2 separate regions of the Homo sapiens genome follow, and region 2 is linked to region 1. The links are contacts of gene promoters, found by promoter capture Hi-C in human tissues and cell types (Jung and others, 2019). All regions are on one chromosome and are shown on one strand. Each heading gives the region's core, a stretch centred on a gene start or on the middle of the fragment in contact. The rest is flanking DNA. Distances are from core to core; before and after follow the strand shown. Region 1 holds the start of ZNF337 (zinc finger protein 337). Region 2 overlaps LOC101926935 (a long non-coding RNA gene).

Region 1 (4,386 bases), core at 371-2,870:
TGCACTCTAGCCTGGGCGACAGAGCAAGACTCTCTCTAAAAACAAAAACAAAAACACAAAAACCCAAAAAACTGAAAACAGACATTTACCATCTATTCTGAGAGTTGCCAACTAAGAGGCTTCATCTACATAATAAGAACTTTGATCTACGCAATCCCCTTAACTCTGGCATGCTTCTGATTCCAGTCTTCAGGCAGTAGCTTAAGTCTCTCAACCAACTGTCCACTAAAGAATCCCTAAGTGCCCCCATGAGGTGTAAACCCTTTGGAGATATACCAGCTTTTTGGGAGGAACCCGTGTATATCTTTCTCTTATTGATTTATGATTTTCTTTTTGGAGGCAGGATCTCGCTGTGTTACCCAGGCTAGCGTGCAGTGCAGCCAACATAGCTGGTTACAGCCTCCACCTCCTGGACTCAACTGACTGGGCCTCCCAAGTAGCTGAGGCCACAGGCATGGGACACCACGCCCCGCTAATTTTTTTATTTTTCTAATTTCATGTAGAGACAGGGTCTTGCTGTGCTGCCCAGGCTGCTCTGGAACTCCTGGCCTCCCAAAGTGCTGGGACTACAGGCATGAGCCACACTGCTCAGCCTGATTTATGACTTTACCTGAAATTCCTGTCTCCCTGAATTGTATAAAATTAACCTGCAAGCCTGACCATCTCGGGCACTTTCACAGGACCTCTTGAGGCTGAATAACCTGGGCCACAGTCACTCATACTGACTAGGAATAAACCTTTTTAAATATATTTTGGCAGAACCCGGATTTTGCCGTCATTAGCAAGGCCCCAGGGAAGAGGCCACCTGGGTCCCCACAGCCACCTCACCTCCCGCGGACGCTGCCCCACGCAGATCCCCCCCCCCCCCCACCAAAACACGTCTAGACGTGCCCGTGCGAGGACATTTGGTCCCGGCCTACACTCCTATCCGCGGAAGATCGTCCCAAGGCGGGGTGCTCCCAACCCAAAGCAGCGGCCCTTCCCCAAAACACGCGGGCGAAGTCCTCCCCTGTCCCGCCTCCCACAATAAAGTCTGGAGCATCAGAGTCGGAGGGAACCCGAGTCGGACCTAGCCCATCCGTCTCATGGCTGTAACCCCCACCCCACCAGTGGACCCTGGCTGTGGCCGAGTCCCCCTCCACCTCCGGCCAAAAGACCCCCGTGGCAGCTCGCTAGGCCGCTGGCCCGTCCCCACCCGAGGAGCGGCGACCCTGGCACAAGAGGACCTGGGTTGCTCGGCGCCCCTGTGAAATCCGGGCTGTTCACCGCCCGAGCCGCCACTACACGCAACCGGGAACGGAGACTGAGTGGCGGCCCAGACCCGGGGCGCTCGGCAAGCCGCAGCCCCACCGCCCACTTCAAGGCGCGGCCTGGGTCTCCGCCCCTCCCCAGAACGCGGAGACGCCGGGCCTGGAGGAGCGCGCGCTACGGCCCCAGCAGCGCCCTCACGTCCCAGGCCTTCCCGGCCCTTCTTCCTGCGCCGGAAGGGCGCGCTGCAGAGAGGGACCCGCAGGAGCGCAGCTCACCGGGGCGGCTGAGGGCGAACCGAGGCGGTGAGGTCACCGATGGTGGACCACGCATCTCACGGCTCGCTGACGCCCAGGGATCTGGAACGCTCTGCGCCGCCCGGGACTACACTACCCAGAATCCTCAGCGCGGCCGGGACTACGCTACCCAGCATCCTCGGCGCGGCCCGGAGGCTATGCGACCCTGCGCGTCGCATCCCCTCGGTGGACTACACTCCCCAGAGTCCTCGGGAGTCGTCCAGGTACACGCCCCAGAATATTGGTCATAGCGGTCCACCCGGGACTGCGCGACCCGGAATCCTTGGAAGGACTTCTCGGAAGGACTCCTCTCTGACAGGTGGGGCGAGCCTATGGTCGTTTGGACGTGGAGGGATCCTTTCAGAACCGGCGATTTCTTTTATTTAGGTAGCCCTATACATACATTAAGCATATTTTCCCATTTCTATGATATAGGTAAATAATTTTCCCACTGTCTTTTGATTATGGGTATGTCTTTTTTTTTTCTTTTGTTTCTTTTTTTTGCTATGTAGTACTTTTGATCTCTGATTTTCCTACGGATTTTGTGGTTTTATCATTCACATTTAGATCTCTCAATGGTTTAATTTTTCTCCAGGTACACACTGTAAATATACAATTATTTTTAAAATTTTCTAATATTTTATTAATTTCCCATTAAATTTATTAAAAATATAGTCTTTTACCAAATAATTTAAGGTTTCAGCTACATAATTCAGTATACTCAATTTACATTTGCATTTCAATTTCTAATTGTTCCCCCATTTATCTAATTATGCATCAATGCCAGAATTCTTTCATTATGTAGGGTGTATAATATGCTGATATCTTTTGTGGCTTGCCAAACCACGTAGACTTTATATTTCAGGCCTTTACTAGGTATACTTGCTGTTTGCTTTTTCTCTTTTGGTTTTTAAATTTTTAATTATTCTGGATAAATATTAGTTGTACATATTTATAGGGTACATGTTATGTTTTGATACAGGCATACAGTGTTTAATGGTCAAATGAGGGTGATTGGGGTATCCATCCCCTCAAGCATTTAGCATTTCTTTGTTTTAGGAAGTTTCCAATTCTCTCTTATTTTTAAATATATAGTAAAATTGTTCTTAACTATAGTCACTGTATAGTGCTACCAACTACTAGATCTTATTCATTCTAACTGTATTTTTGTATCGATTAACAAGTCCCTCTTTATCTCCTCTACCCACCATCCTTCCCAGCCTCTGTTAACTATCTCATTCTACTCTCCATCTCCATGAGTTCACGTTTTTAGCCCCACAAATGAGTGAGCACATGTGATATTTGTCATGCTGTGCCTCATTTCGCTTAACATAATGTCCTCCATTTTCATACATGCTATTGAAAATGACAGAATTTCATTCTTTTAATGACTGGCTAATATCCCATTGTGTTAATGTACCACACTTTCCTTATCCATTCATCTGTTGATAGACACTTTGATTCTATATCTTTACTATTTTGGATAGTGCTGTAGTAAACATGAGAGTGCAGATATATCCTTGAAATACTGATTTCCTTTCTTTTGGATATATACTCAGCAGTGGGATTGCGGGATCATGTATATATTTATTAATTCTTTTGAGGAACCTCCATACTGCTCTCCATAGTGGTTGTACTAATTTACATTCCTAACAACAGTGTATGAGGGTGTATCCACACCCTCACCAGTATTCACTATTGCCTGTCTCTTGAATAAAAGCTATCTTGACTGGGGTGACATTATATCTCATTGCGGTTTTGATTTACATTTCTCTGATGATTAGTGGCATTGAGCATTTTTTTTCATACACTTGTTGGCCGTTCATATATCTTATTTTGAGAGATGCCTATTCAGATCTTTTCTCCATTTAAAATATCAGATTGTCTTTTTCCTATTGAGTTGTTTTAGCTCCTTATATATATTCTGGCAATTACTTTCTTTTCAGATGGATAGTTTGCAAATTTTTTCTCCCATTCTGTGGATTGTCACTTCACTTTGTTGATTGTTTCCTTTGCTTGCAGAAGATTTTTATGTGATGTGGTCTCATTTGTCCACTTTTGCTTTAGGTGCTTGTGCTTTTGCAGTCTTACTCAAGAAATCTTTGTCCACACCAATGTCCTGGAGTGTTTCCCCAATGTTTTTTTCTAGTAGTTTTATAGTTTCAGGTCTTAGATTTACCTTTAATCCATTTTGATTTGATTTTTATATGTGGTGAGGGGATTGCTTTAGATTTCATTCTTCTGCAAATGGATATCCAGTTTTTGCAGTGCCATTTATTGAAATGACTGTCTTTCCCCAATGTAAGTTCTTTGCACCTTTGTGGGATATAAGTTGAACTATAAATGTGTGGATTTATTTCTGGGCTCTCCACTCTGTTCCATTGGTCTGTGTGCCTGTTTTTATGCCAGCATTTTGCTGTGTGGATTACTATAGTTTGCATAATTTGAAGTCAGGTAATGTGATTCCTCCAGCTTTATTACTTTTGTTCAGGATGGCTTTGGCTATTTTGGATCTTTCATGGTCCCATATAAATTTTAGGATTAATTTATCTATTTCTGTGAAGAATGTCATTGATATTTTGATTGGGATTGCATTGAATCTGTAGACAAGGTGGAATGGACATTTTAATAAGATTAATTCTTCTAGTCCAAAAACACGGACTATCTTTCCATTTTTTGTATCCTTTTCAATTTCTCTCATCAATGTTTTATAGTTTTTGTTGTAGAGATCGTTCACATCTTTGGTTGATTTTATTCCTAGCTATTTTATTTTATTTGTAACTTTTATAAACAGGTTACTTTCTTGATTTCTTTTTCAGATTGTTTGTTGTTGGCATATAGA
Region 2 (4,170 bases), core at 1,557-4,056, 150 kb after region 1:
CTGGCCTGGCCCAGAATCAGTGCTCATCAAGGGTGTATAGAACTCACAAGGACCCAGGAATGTTTTGTAAATAATACCACCCTCCCACACTTCTCCAATGCTTACTTTCTAAGCTCCTTTACTCTTTGACATTCAAATTTCTAAATGGCCTGTATGTATTTACAAAGCCTGGGAAAACGCCTTCAGAGGACAAACACACCCCACCGGCAAAATGTATTTGCATTGACTAGGATTATGGATGATATTCAGCCTTCTGGCAAATGAATCATTTGGCATTGGCTGAGTATCTGCTCTGTGCCAGATACTAAGCTGTGATCTCTAGAAAGAGACATGAACTACTGACACAGTCCTTGACCCCGAAGAGCTCAGAATCCAGTGAGCTTGATTTCTTGTAAGTTAGAGACAGAGTTCAGAGCAGAAGCTGAGGCAGGAGAAGAGAAGTAAAATGGACACATCAGAGGCAGTGACAGCCACACAGCTGTCTGGGGACACTGAGTGCAGCAACAAATAGCTTAGGCTGCCTTGGCAGCCCACGAAGGTATCACGGTTTCCTATTGCAGCATCTCAGTGATGCTTTTGTTATGCTGATCTCTGCAAAGCCCCTCTGTACCCCAGCCCAGGATGGTGACTGCCATGCTGTGGAGAAAAGGGCAGTGACCAGGACCACAGGCTCAGAGCTTGCACCCTGGACCACCTGGGAATGGGAGCCCTTCACATGTTCTCTACCTCTGTGTTCAGGTTGGGGGTCCTGGCCAAGGAAGGGAGATGACCCCCATGCGGGGTCAAAAGGACACACTCCCGGGAACAGACTGTCTCTTCTTTCTGGGTAATTTCTGCCTCTGCAGTGAATGGTGAAACCAGACACATCCTCTCTGTTGGTATGACACAAAGACAGGCGTTCCTGCTCATGGGCTGAATCTTCAGATGAGGGGAGGTGTAGCAAACTCCTGTGCTCTGATGACTAAGGCAGGGACACATGTCACCCCATCGGAATGAGTGTCAGACCAATGGCTAAAATAAAATCATTTTCAATATTCAAAGGAATCACCTTCATTCATCTACAAATACTTTTCCTTTTCTTTCTTTTTTTTTTTTTTTTTTTTTTTTTTGAGAAGGAGTTTTGCTCTGTCGCCTAGGCTGGAGTGCAGTGGCATGATCTTGGCTCACCGCAACTTCTGCCTCCTGGGTTCAAGCGATTCTCCTGCCTCAGCCTCCGGAGTATCCGGTGTAGCTGGGACTACAGGTGCCCACCACCACATCTGGCTAATTCTTGTATTTTTCATAGAGACAAGGTTTCACTATATTAGCCAGGCTGGTCTTGAGTTCCTGACCTTTTGATCCGCCTACCTTGGCCTCCTAAACTGCTGGGATTACAGGTGTGAGCCACCGCATCTGGCCCAAGTTTTTTTCTATAAAACCACATATTGCACTCAGGGTAGGGTAAATGATGCATCATGCCTGCTGGCAACATGGGCCCTATCTGGAAAGCGAGTGCCCACCACCATAGCACAGTTCCATGCAGTGCCTGTGTGGTGCTGAATCTCAGGAGCAGCCCCAATCCTGTGAACCACAACTACAGGGACCTTAGACATAAGCAAATACTTCTGGTGGCCAGGCCTGCCAGCAAGCAGATGCTAACCCTGTCCTGGGGGCCTGCAGAGAGGTCGGGCCAGTGCAGAGGTGGTGAGACCCATGTCTGGTCTCCCCAACTCCCACCCATGCTATGCAATGGGGGCGACCACGCACCCGATCTGCCTGGGAGGGTCCTAGTGTGCCCACTGCCTTGCTGAGTTATGAGGGATGCTGCCTCTCACATCTCACCGGTATCGCATTTGAAGGACAAATTATGTCTTCCCTTCCCCACCCTGTGGACCTCCGTTTCCTCATGTGCAAGTGGGGGATGATAGGCTTACATGGTTATGCAGTGGGGGTATCAATGGGATCCATCTGTCAATACCTTGCATCCAGTGACCACCTGGAGCACACCTGCAGTTCGCAAGTTAGGCTTCCTGCTGCAGTGAGGGGAGCAAGCACTGCCTGGAGCCAGGGAGCTTCTCTGAAGGAGGTGTTGGAAAGGACTTGTTCCAGAATTTGGGCTTGTATTGGGAGCTTGGGGGAAGGTTGAAAGAAGCCTTTGCTCCAGATTGGATGCTGTCAGAGGCAGGGTGGATTCTATCACCTGGCATCTTCCCCAATCTTACCTAGAAGGAAGGAAGACAAGACCAAAGCTAACGCTGCAATTGACAGAGGTAGTGGTCATGACATAGACACAGGGGAGGGGGTGTGAGGTCATTTTTGTCCATGTTTTGCATGAGCTGAGCCATGATAGCTACCAAGTGACCTTGCTTTGTCTTGACCCATCATGGTCACAGAGCGACCTTGTCTGATGCTGACAACCTGTGCAGTTCAACAGGAGAACACCAACGTCTTGCCAGCAGTGGCTGCTGTCCTCCTGAGGCCTCGCTTCTCCTCCTCTGGGGCCTACTGCTGACCGTGGGAGGTGTGGAGTGGGAAGGGAATATGCCGTGGGTTTTTTTTTTTTTTTTTTTTTTGCAGAACAAGGACAGGGGACTCTGATGCCTTCAGCTCTGGCCATCCTGAGTGCTGTGATCTGCTTCCCCTGCTTCCTACACCACCCACAATCCCACCACGCTGCTGCAGTCACTGCCAACTCATAGTGCCTTCTAAGGGCCCCAGTGTCTCTGGGACACCCCTCTCCCCTGGGAGGGAAGCCAGGTGCTCATGAATGTCCCAGGTGGAGGTGCTGAAAAAGTGTGGAGATGCCTTCTTGAGTGTCAAAGTCTGGGATTCCAGCTTTCAGCCTCAGGCTCCAGGTGTGTGTGCTGAAGTGGAATTTTCTTCTCTCGTTCACTCTCCTGTCTGGTCAGAGGAACTTGGGGAGTTTCCTCTCTAGGGGAGGGAAAGGCCCTGGAGAGGTGGCCTTGCCCTGAACTGGGAAGGGGTGGGCATGGGAAAGCAGGGGCCTGGGCTCTGCCTACTGCTTGCTGAGAGCTTGGACATAGCACTGCCCTCCCTCAGCTCCTGTCTCCTTTCTCTGTATGATTAGGTGGAGGTGGATGGGATTCTGCTTCTACTCCCAGTCCTTGGGCACCATGTCAGGTACTCACACACTTATGACCCCATCTGGTCTTTGGAATGGCACTGGGGGATGGATCTGTCAATCTCACGTTGCAAATGTTTGTTCTAAATCCCACACTCTGAAGTCAGAAAGACCTGGGTTAGCCCTCAGCCACTGACGGTTGCTTGCTATGTGACCTTGGACAAGTCACTGCCCTTCTCTGAGCCTCAACACCCACATTTACACAGGGGAAGAATAATACCTCCCTCTTGGGCTGCTGTGAAGCAGAGCTAATGCGTACATTGCCTCAGGCACATTGCAGGTGCTCAAAGTGTTGGTCTTTCCTTCCCTTTCTAGGTCTCCATTTCCTCATCTACACAGTAGGGAGCAACTCTGTCCTGATTATAAATAAGACAACAGGTGAATGCACTCAGCAAGCCTAGGGGCAAGGATGCGTAGAGAAGCTTCTTGCAAAGGTGAAGAATGTGTGCTCTGAGCCCCGTGCTGAGAGGCAGGTGAGAGGACAGCAAGCCCAGCGACTGAGGCCTACAAAATGCCCCCTGCAGAGAGGGAGGAGGAGCAGTGTTCTAAGGCGGGTGGGAGGCAGCATCCCCAGTGCTTGCAGGAGGAGCAGGACTGTTGTGCTTGCTCAGGTGGGTGGTAGGTTAGGTTCTTAGGTATCTGCTGGGTATCAGATGCTGCACAAGCATCATCTCCGTGAACTTAATCTTTCCATCATCCCTGAGAGGTGGGCATTACAGGGGCATAGTGGGATTGAAACACAGGTCCCCTGAGCCTGTGCCTTTTCTACAAGGCAATTTAGTTCACATGTAATAATAGGACCCAAAAATACACCTGCTATGCTGTGCTCACCTGATTTCATAACATCCTTGTGACCTGCCAGGTTGGTGAACTGTCATCATTTTATGGATGAGAAAACTGAGGCTCAGAGAGGGTGAATAATTTGCTCATCCTTCCAAAGAACTAAAAGGAAGAGAGGTGCTATAGCTGTGGGGCCTTCTATTCCTGGTAGGAAGTGTGCAGTACCCAAGGCCATTCTGACCCCAGTGCAGGCAGGAGAAAAGGCACAT

The links. Contacts are between HindIII fragments. The study calls those that stand out against the background at their distance.
Region 2: a contact is called between a fragment that was not itself captured here and the fragment with the promoter of ZNF337 in region 1, in 2 of the 25 tissues and cell types used here (H1 embryonic stem cells and dorsolateral prefrontal cortex).

Annotation. Positions count from the first base shown.
Region 1 is chr20:25,695,233-25,699,618 of GRCh38, forward strand. ZNF337 (zinc finger protein 337) reads right to left here and starts at 1,621. Exons shown (of 5, transcript NM_015655.4): 1 at 1,527-1,621. It overlaps LOC107985400 (a long non-coding RNA gene), which reads left to right and starts at 1,809. Exons shown (of 2, transcript XR_007067557.1): 1 at 1,809-1,931. RefSeq lists an enhancer at 1,025-1,134. The HindIII fragment of the contact is 16,641 bases long and covers 1-4,386 here.
Region 2 is chr20:25,846,748-25,850,917 of GRCh38, forward strand. LOC101926935 (a long non-coding RNA gene) reads right to left here. Exons shown (of 3, transcript NR_110001.1): 3 at 1-2,201. Among named protein-coding and RNA genes, the nearest start is that of FAM182B, 53 kb to the left of the region's middle. RefSeq lists enhancers at 1-106, 312-813, 1,229-1,729, 3,191-3,715. The HindIII fragment of the contact is 3,050 bases long and covers 1,282-4,170 here.